Linked DNA regions of Homo sapiens: region 2 is linked to region 1. Evidence: promoter capture Hi-C in human tissues and cell types (Jung and others, 2019). All regions are on one chromosome and are shown on one strand. Each heading gives the region's core, a stretch centred on a gene start or on the middle of the fragment in contact. The rest is flanking DNA. Distances are from core to core; before and after follow the strand shown. Region 1 holds the start of YWHAB (tyrosine 3-monooxygenase/tryptophan 5-monooxygenase activation protein beta). Region 2 overlaps ADA (adenosine deaminase).

The links. The method cuts DNA at HindIII sites, captures the fragments that hold promoters and counts their contacts. A contact is called where the count stands out against the background at its distance.
Region 2: a fragment that was not itself captured here is called in contact with the fragment with the promoter of YWHAB in region 1 in 1 of the 25 tissues and cell types used here (dorsolateral prefrontal cortex).

What each region holds. Positions count from the first base shown.
Region 1 is chr20:44,883,102-44,886,954 of GRCh38, reverse strand. It overlaps YWHAB (tyrosine 3-monooxygenase/tryptophan 5-monooxygenase activation protein beta), which reads right to left and starts at 1,250. Exons shown (of 6, transcript NM_139323.4): 1 at 1,069-1,250. RefSeq lists silencers at 957-1,506, 1,567-1,626 and an enhancer at 904-1,520. The HindIII fragment of the contact is 9,752 bases long and covers 1-3,853 here.
Region 2 is chr20:44,638,072-44,641,924 of GRCh38, reverse strand. The region is part of intron 1 of ADA (adenosine deaminase); the gene reads left to right. Among named protein-coding and RNA genes, the nearest start is that of ADA, 12 kb to the left of the region's middle. RefSeq lists an enhancer at 1-3,853. The HindIII fragment of the contact is 5,650 bases long and covers 1-3,853 here.

The DNA.
Region 1 (3,853 bases), core at 1-2,500:
GATTTTATGTTCATAGCATCATCTTGCCAAATTCCATCTCCCACACAGGGCAAGCAAAATCAGGACCTGATGCTATCTAGCCTTACCAAAGAGAAATGCAATGAAGGCAACGACAAGAAACATGTATTTTACAGAAAGGTTGGCAAATTGCTTACCAAGGCTGCCACCTCTGAAAACCCCATTATATGGGAGTTCTCCATTTGCGGCAAAGATGCACTCACCTTCCCACCTCTTCTTCCCTCCGCTCCCCACCCCCCGACCAGGAAGCCACCGGGCAAATTTCAGACCGAAAAACGTGCTAACACACAATATGGGGGAATTTGGGGTAAAGACACAAAAGAATCTGGCATTAAATGACGGTAAATACTGTGAGAAAATACTCCGATTCTCACCCCCTGATATTTTTTCCTGGGGATCCGGCCTGACTCAGTAACCGGCTCCAACAAACAGATTTTCTTGATTCAAACCCAATTCCCTTCCTAGGGAATCTTGGGTCCTGCCAGGCTCCATAACCAGTGAAGGATGATGAAATGGTTTTACTGCAAAATGGGAGGGGGTTCCCCCACTGCTGTCTCCCAAGGTTAAACCCCTTACTCATCCAGGAGGAGCCAAACACGGGGACTGGGGCTAGAAAACTCATCCGCGTTTGATTAAATTTTAATTTCTGGAAACCAGAAAGCACGGAGCAGAGGTGACAGGGCTGAAGGGGACGTTCTTGCCGACCAAGACGCAGGGAGGGGTCGCGTGGGGCCCGAAGCAGATAGTGAGGGAGGGTCCGGGATCCCCGGCTCCGCTGTCCCTTACGGCACAGTACGGAGTTGCACCCCGCCCGGCCGGCAGGACCTCAGGCGGCCCGAGCCTCTCCAAGAGGTAAAGGGCCCGGCCCCGGAAACAGGGAGGGGCCGCTGCGAGGTCTGGCCTCGCCGCCGGCGGCCGCGCGGAGCGAAAGAGGCAGCGCGCCGCTACCCCACGGGGCCCACCCACTGGGCCGCCGTCGTCGCAGCAGCCAGAGAGGGGCTTCGAGTTTGGGCCCCCGGGGGCCCCGGTCGGACCCCGCGCCGCACTCACCGTGGGAGGGCTGCAGGGAACAAAGACCCTTCCGAGCGAAGCTCCGAGCGAGATGACCTCTTCCTTCCTAAGCCCACTACTCAGGCGGCGGCAGCGGTGCCTGCAGTGGCTGCAGCGGCGGCGGCGGCGGCGACTACCCCGGCTCCGGAATCGGCGGCGGCGGTGGCGGTAGCTCCACTTCCGCTCCGATCGCCACTTCCGCTCCGGTCCTGGCCGCGCCCCGCCCCAAACCGTGTTCTCATTGGGCAAGCGAGGCACGGGGTTGCCACGGCCCCACGGGAGGGGCGCAGACGGAAGGGAGGAGGAAGAAGAGCGAAAGGCAGGGTTGCAGGGGCCGGGGCAGGGCGGATGGCCGGGGGAGGGACCCAGGAGGAGGTGGGCGGAGAAGAAGGAAATGGGGCGGGGGAGCGGGAAAAGGAGGTGGGAGGAGAGAGGGCGGAGCTGGGGGTGGTCAAGATACGGGCTGTGTGGGAATAAGGAGGACTAGGAGTGTGGTCTGGATGGGGATTGCCCTTTCTGCTGGGACTGGAAACGCGCCAGGGCCAGTCCCGGAGATTCGAGGTTTAGCAGTTCCCCCTCCACCCCGAAAGTAATCCTCACTGGGTCGGAGGCCGATGTCAGTCCTCTTACTGTGTGCTTTGGTAATGCTGGAGCCAGGGAAGAACAGAAATTGCTCATCCCTCAATGTTCATTTAATCCTTTCAATCCTTCAGGGTACTTACCTTTTCCTTCTTTGGTAGACTGAAGAGGCCACGTGAAGTGCCAGGAATCCAATGCACAAACGTCTTTTTAAAAAACCTGTGTAGGGTCGAGCGCAGTGGTTCGCGCCTGTAATCTCAGCACTTTGGGAAGCTGAGGTGAGAGGATTGCTTGAGGCCGGGAGTTGTAGGCTGCAGTGAGCTATGGTCATGCCACTGCACTCCAACCTGGGAGACAGAGTGAGACCCTGTCTCCAAAAAAAACCCACAAAAATCTGTGTACATGATTTCTTCTTTAAGATGCCCCCTCGTTGAGGAAGTTCAGGGAAGGAAACAGGCCTCCATGGCTCCCCTCCCCTCCATGACTGCTCTCACAATTACCAACATTCTACTCCTCTGAAGGTAGTTGATTTTGTTTTGTTTTGTTTTGTTTTGTTTTCTGTTTTTGAGACAGAGTCTCTTTCTGTCGCCCAGGCAGTGTCACAATCTTGGCTCACTGCAATCTCTGCCTCCCAGGTTCAAGCAATTCTCCTGCCTCAGCCTCCTGAGTAGCTGGGATAACAGGTGCATGCCACCACTCTCGGCTAGTTTTTGTATTTTTAGTAGACACGGGGCTTCGCCATATTGGCCGGGCTGGTCTCAAACTCCTGACCTCAGGTGATCCACCCGCCTCAGCCTCCCAAAGTGCTGGGATTACAGACATGAACCACCTCGACCGGCTTCAAGGTAGTTGATTTTTAAACTCAGTCCTTCAAAATGCCTCTCGCCTTCCCTCTCTCCTGTTCATTTATTCTTTCAACAAATGTTGAACAGGCTTTTTGCTTAGTGCTGGAGACACAGCAATGAACAAGGCAGGTGGGGCCCTGCTGTCTTGGAGTTTGCAGTCGGGTAGGAGAAAAAGCCAAGTAAATAGGCCTTTGCCGTCTTGCCTTTACCCTTACTTAGCTAAATGACAGACTTCTAATTCACCATTTGGTCTCAGCCTCGCCCGTCAACTGCCAAGTGATCTTTTAAAAATACCATTCTAATCGTGTCCTGTTCTTGCTTAAATTATTTAGTGTGCACTCAGACCTAGATGACAATATATAAGTTCCTTGAGTGTGACAATCAGGGTTCTCCAAAAGCTGCCCTTATCCTTTAGCTGCTATTTCTCCCCCATCGTAAATACCCCAATTCAATTGGATGATTCCTTACCCTCCCAATATGCCATCTCCAGTATTTCTAAGCAGTTTGACTTAGTTGCCAACACTTTTTTAAACTGAAAAGTTTCTGTGTGAACAGAAATCTGCCTCTCTGCCTTGTCTGGTAACACTGTGTCCACATTTCTGTGTGGCAACAATTGGCTGAAGCCAAGGAGTGGCTGCCTGTTCTAGACTGGGCATGGACTTTCCCAAATGCCAGGGACCCTTCTCGACCTGAGTCTGCTTTTGTCACTTATGTTATCTGTCATGTAGGCATGTGTGCCAGTGACCCCTGTACTGTGCCACCTTTTAAGTTGAACAAGATTGAGAACGTGTTGTGTAACGTAAACAGCATGGTTTTGGGTCAAAACCATTGGATTTGAATCCTGGAGAGGTTAGTGCAAAAACTTCCCCATGAGGATCGTCTTTGGCAGACCCTAGACCAGTAATCTAGAGACTACTCAGGCTAAGTAACTTTTAATGTCACAAGACTGTGCCTTATGCCGTCATCCAGAAAATAGCCTAATGGACCAGAGGGCTAATAATGATTATACCACAAATGACATCAACAGTGCATTGAGGGAACAGAAGTGCCCTTTGTCAGGCATTCCTAGGTGCCTGTTAAAGGGTTCAATGGATTAGCTTATTTCACCATCTCTGCATTCTAGGCCAAGCGTCAGCAAACCACAGCTATGAACTGACAGCGATACAGATAAATGTTAAAATACAATGTGGTAGGTGCAACCATAGAAATAAATATATGTGCAGGGTATTATGGGAGCTTGGGAGAAGAGCACCTAACCCATCTTGGGAATATGATGGGAGAGCAGGAAAGATTTCCTTAAAGAAGTGATACTAGAGCCTTATATACTGCAGTGAATCTTTTTTCAAATTATAGACTTAATT
Region 2 (3,853 bases), core at 757-3,256, 250 kb after region 1:
ATGGTGGTGGGCGCCTGTAATCCCAGCTACTTGGGAGGCTGAGGCACGAGAATCCCTTGAACCTGGGAGGCAGAGGCTGCAATGAGCTGAGATCTTGCCACTGCACTCCAGCCTGGGCAACAGAGCCAGACTCCATCTCAAAAAAAAAAAAACAACAACAACAAATAAATAAATGAATAAATACTTTAGCCAGAAGTAGCCATGCAGACCTCCCCCCACCAGTCCCACCCACAAGCGGACGTGACTACCGCCCCCATTCACTGCCTGATCCTCCTGTTCTCAGGGGCTCCAAGGCCAGGCCTGGTTTGACCTTCTGACTTTCTGACTTCCTCCTACCTTCCCAGTAACCTCATGCAACTCCTTTCACTCAGCCTCAATCATCCCCATGGGTGTTTAAACTTGCCCAAGACATGCCCCTTTGAAAAAGCCTGCCATTCTCTTGACCCACATGCACGTCCTGCCCCCTCCAAGGCTGCTAGTTCCTTTAGGGGCAAAATTGTGAAAGAGTAGTCTAAACCTTCTTCCTCTTCTTACCTCCACTTCTTTCTTACCTTATTCCCATGTGGATTCTACCCTCACTCAGGCCTCTAGAACGGTTCCTCTACGGCAGTGGTTCCCAATCTTGACTACGTGTTTTTTTAAAAAAAGTCCTCCACCTGGGCCTGCCACCAAGGATTTTTCTTTAATTGACCTCAGATGGGGTTGAGGCCTTGGGAACTGGCCAGAACTTCCCGTGCTCCTAACTTGCAGCCGGGGTTAAGAACTACTCCTCTGAAGCCCCCAGTGCCTGCGCTTTTAGCCCGACGGACAAGTTTCTGCCCTTCCATCCTGTGACCTCCAGCAGGGCCTGACCATGTGAGTTTTCTGTGGCTGCCGTGACAAGTTGCCACACCCTGCATGGCTTCAACCAACAGAAACGTGTGCCCTGGCAGTTCTGGGGGCCAGAAGTCCAACATCAAGATATCATCAGAGCCACATGCCCACTGAAGGCTCTCGGGGGAATCCATTCCTTGCCTCTTCTGGTTGCTGGTGGCTCTAGGCATTCCTTGGCTTGTGGCTGCATCATTCCAGTCTCTGCCTCTGAGGTCACGTTGCTGCTTCCTCTTGTGTGTGTTTCTCTTAAAACTCTCTGCTTCTGTCTTATAAGGATACATGTGATTGCATCTAGGGCCCAACCAGATAATCCAGGATAAACTCTTCCTGTCAAGACATTTAATAATCACACTTTGCCATATAAGGTAATTTTTTTTTTTTTTTTGAGGTGGAGTTTTGCACTTTCACCCAGGCTGGAGTAAAGTGATTTAATCTCGGCTCACTGGAATCTCTGCCCCCAGGTTCAAGCAATTCTCCTGCCTCAGCCTCCTGAGTAGCTGGGATTATAGGTACCTGCCACCATGCCCAGCTAACTTTTGTATTTTTAGTAGACATGGGGTTTCACCATGTTGGCCAGGCTGGTCTCGAACTCCTGACCTCAGGTGATCCACCCGCCATAAGTTAATATTTTTTTTTTGAGAGGGAGTATTGCTCTGTTGCCCAGGCTGGAGTGCTAGTGGCTCAATCTCGGCTCACTGCAACCTCCGCCTCCCAGGTTCAAATGATTCTCCTACCTCAGTCTCCTGAGTAGCTGGGACTACAGGTGCATGCCACCATGCCTGGCTGATTTTTGTATTTTTAATAGAGAGGGGATTTCACCATGTTGGCCAGGCTGGTGTTGAACTCCTAACCTCAAGTGATCCACCCACCTCAGCCTCCCAAAGTGTTGGGATTACAGGCATGAACCACCACGCCCGACCCATATAAGGTAATATTTACAGGTTCTGGGGATTAGGATTAGCATGTAGACAGCTTTGTGGGGGCCACCATTCAGCCCACTATGCTAACCCTGTGAACCGTTGCTCGCTTCTCCTTGACATCTGACGGCCTGGCCTTCTGCATACCACACACCCTCCCACCTCTCTGGCCACAGTTCTGTAGGCTCAGCCTCCTCCGTAAGGCCATTAAGTGCTTGTGCTGGTCAAAGTTTCATCCTAGGCCTTTTCCTTACCTCCCTTGATATTTTCTCCCTAGGTGAGCTCCTTCAAGCCCACAGCTTCTGTGCTTACCCACACTCCTACCTACATTCCCAGCTTGGGCTTCTCAGGCCAGCTCTAGACTCTTGTATCCCACTGGGTTCTTCCACTTACCTTTGGATATCTCAAAGGCATCTCCAGTTGGCTGGGCACGATGGTTCACACCTGTAACCCCAGCACTTTGGGAGGCCGAGGTGGGCAGATCACTTGAGGTCAGGAGTTCAAGACCAGCCTGGCCAATATGGTGAAACCCCATCTCTACTAAAAATACAAAAATTAGCTGGGCATGGTGGTGGGTGCCTGTAGTCCCAACTACTCGGGAGGCTGAGGCAGGAGAATCGCTTGAACCCGGGAGGTGGAGGTTTCCGTGAGCTGAGCTGGAGCCACTGCACTCCAGCCTGGGCAACAGAGTGAAACTCCGTCTTAAAAAAACAAAAAACAAAAGGTGTCTCTAGTGTAACATAACTAAAACCAAACCAATCATGCCTCCCTCCCCCGCATCCTCCCTCCTGGAGGGAGCTCCAGGACTTGGTCTTCTCTTCCAGAGTTCTCTGTCTCAAACTGCGGGAATTGCTCCCCACCCAGGCCTAACCTGAAGTGTGAGCCTTGGCATCTCTTTCTATCCACCTGTTTTTCCTCTATGCACCTCACAACCCTGGTCCAAGCCACCGTCATCTTTCAAATGGCTGCAGTAGCCTCTAACTGGCCTTGGAGGAGCCATCCTCTTTCTCTAACCAGCTGCCAACCCTGCAATGGCCTCTGTGTGCTTTCCAGATAAAGCCTGACTCCTCGTGGCCCGCACAGCCCTGCCTGGGTGGTCCTATCCTGCAGCCTCTCCAGTACCATGAACCCTCCCTTCTCTGAACCTCTATTTAATCCATTTCATATACCCCGTTTTCTCCTGCCATAGGGCCTTGCACATGCTGTTCCTTCTGCCTGGAATTTTCTTCCTGCCTCCCTCCGCACCCCTGCCTTGTGTTGTGGGTTCCTCGCTATCCTCTAGCTTTTCGCTCAGGCTCATTGTTGGCCCTCTAGATGTATTCACTTCTCTTGTTTGTTACCCTCTGTCATAGGACTGTGTTCGTACTTCCCAAGGAGTCGTCTTGGTTTGTGACTGTACATTTTCCCATGTGACATTTGCTTAATGCCTCTCCCACTCTGGGGCCTGTACAAGCCCCAGGAACAGGACTTGGACCCTCCTGTTTAACTCTACAATCTAGCATCCAGCAGGAGCGCAGGCCTTCGTTGACTTTTATTTTATTCTTATTTTTTATTTTTGAGATGCAGTTTCGCTCTTGTCGCCCAGGCTGGAGTGCAGTGGCGTAATCTCGGCTCACTGCAGCCTCTGCCTCCCAGGTTCAGGTGATTCTCCTGTCTCAGCCTCCCAAGTAGCTGGGATTACAGGTGTGCGCCACCACGCCTGGCTAATTTTTTGCATTTTTAGTAGAGATGGGGTTTCACCATGTTGGCCAGGCTGGTCTCAAACTCCTGGCCTCAGGTGATCCACCCACCTCGGCCTCCCAAAGTGGCTGGATTACAGGCGTGAGCCCCCATGCCCAGCCTTCATTGACTTTTAGTTGACAACTATTTAGCATTTGCTATGTGCCAAGAACTCCCTGCCTACTAATGCAGTTAACCCTCATGAAGCCTAGAAGGAAGGACTGCCATTCTCCCCACTTAACAGATGAGGATGCCGAGGCACAGGAAGTGAAGTGACTTTCTCAGGGTCAAGCAGGGAGTGAGTGGAGGAGCCGAGATTCCAGCTCTAACCGCATGATGCTCTA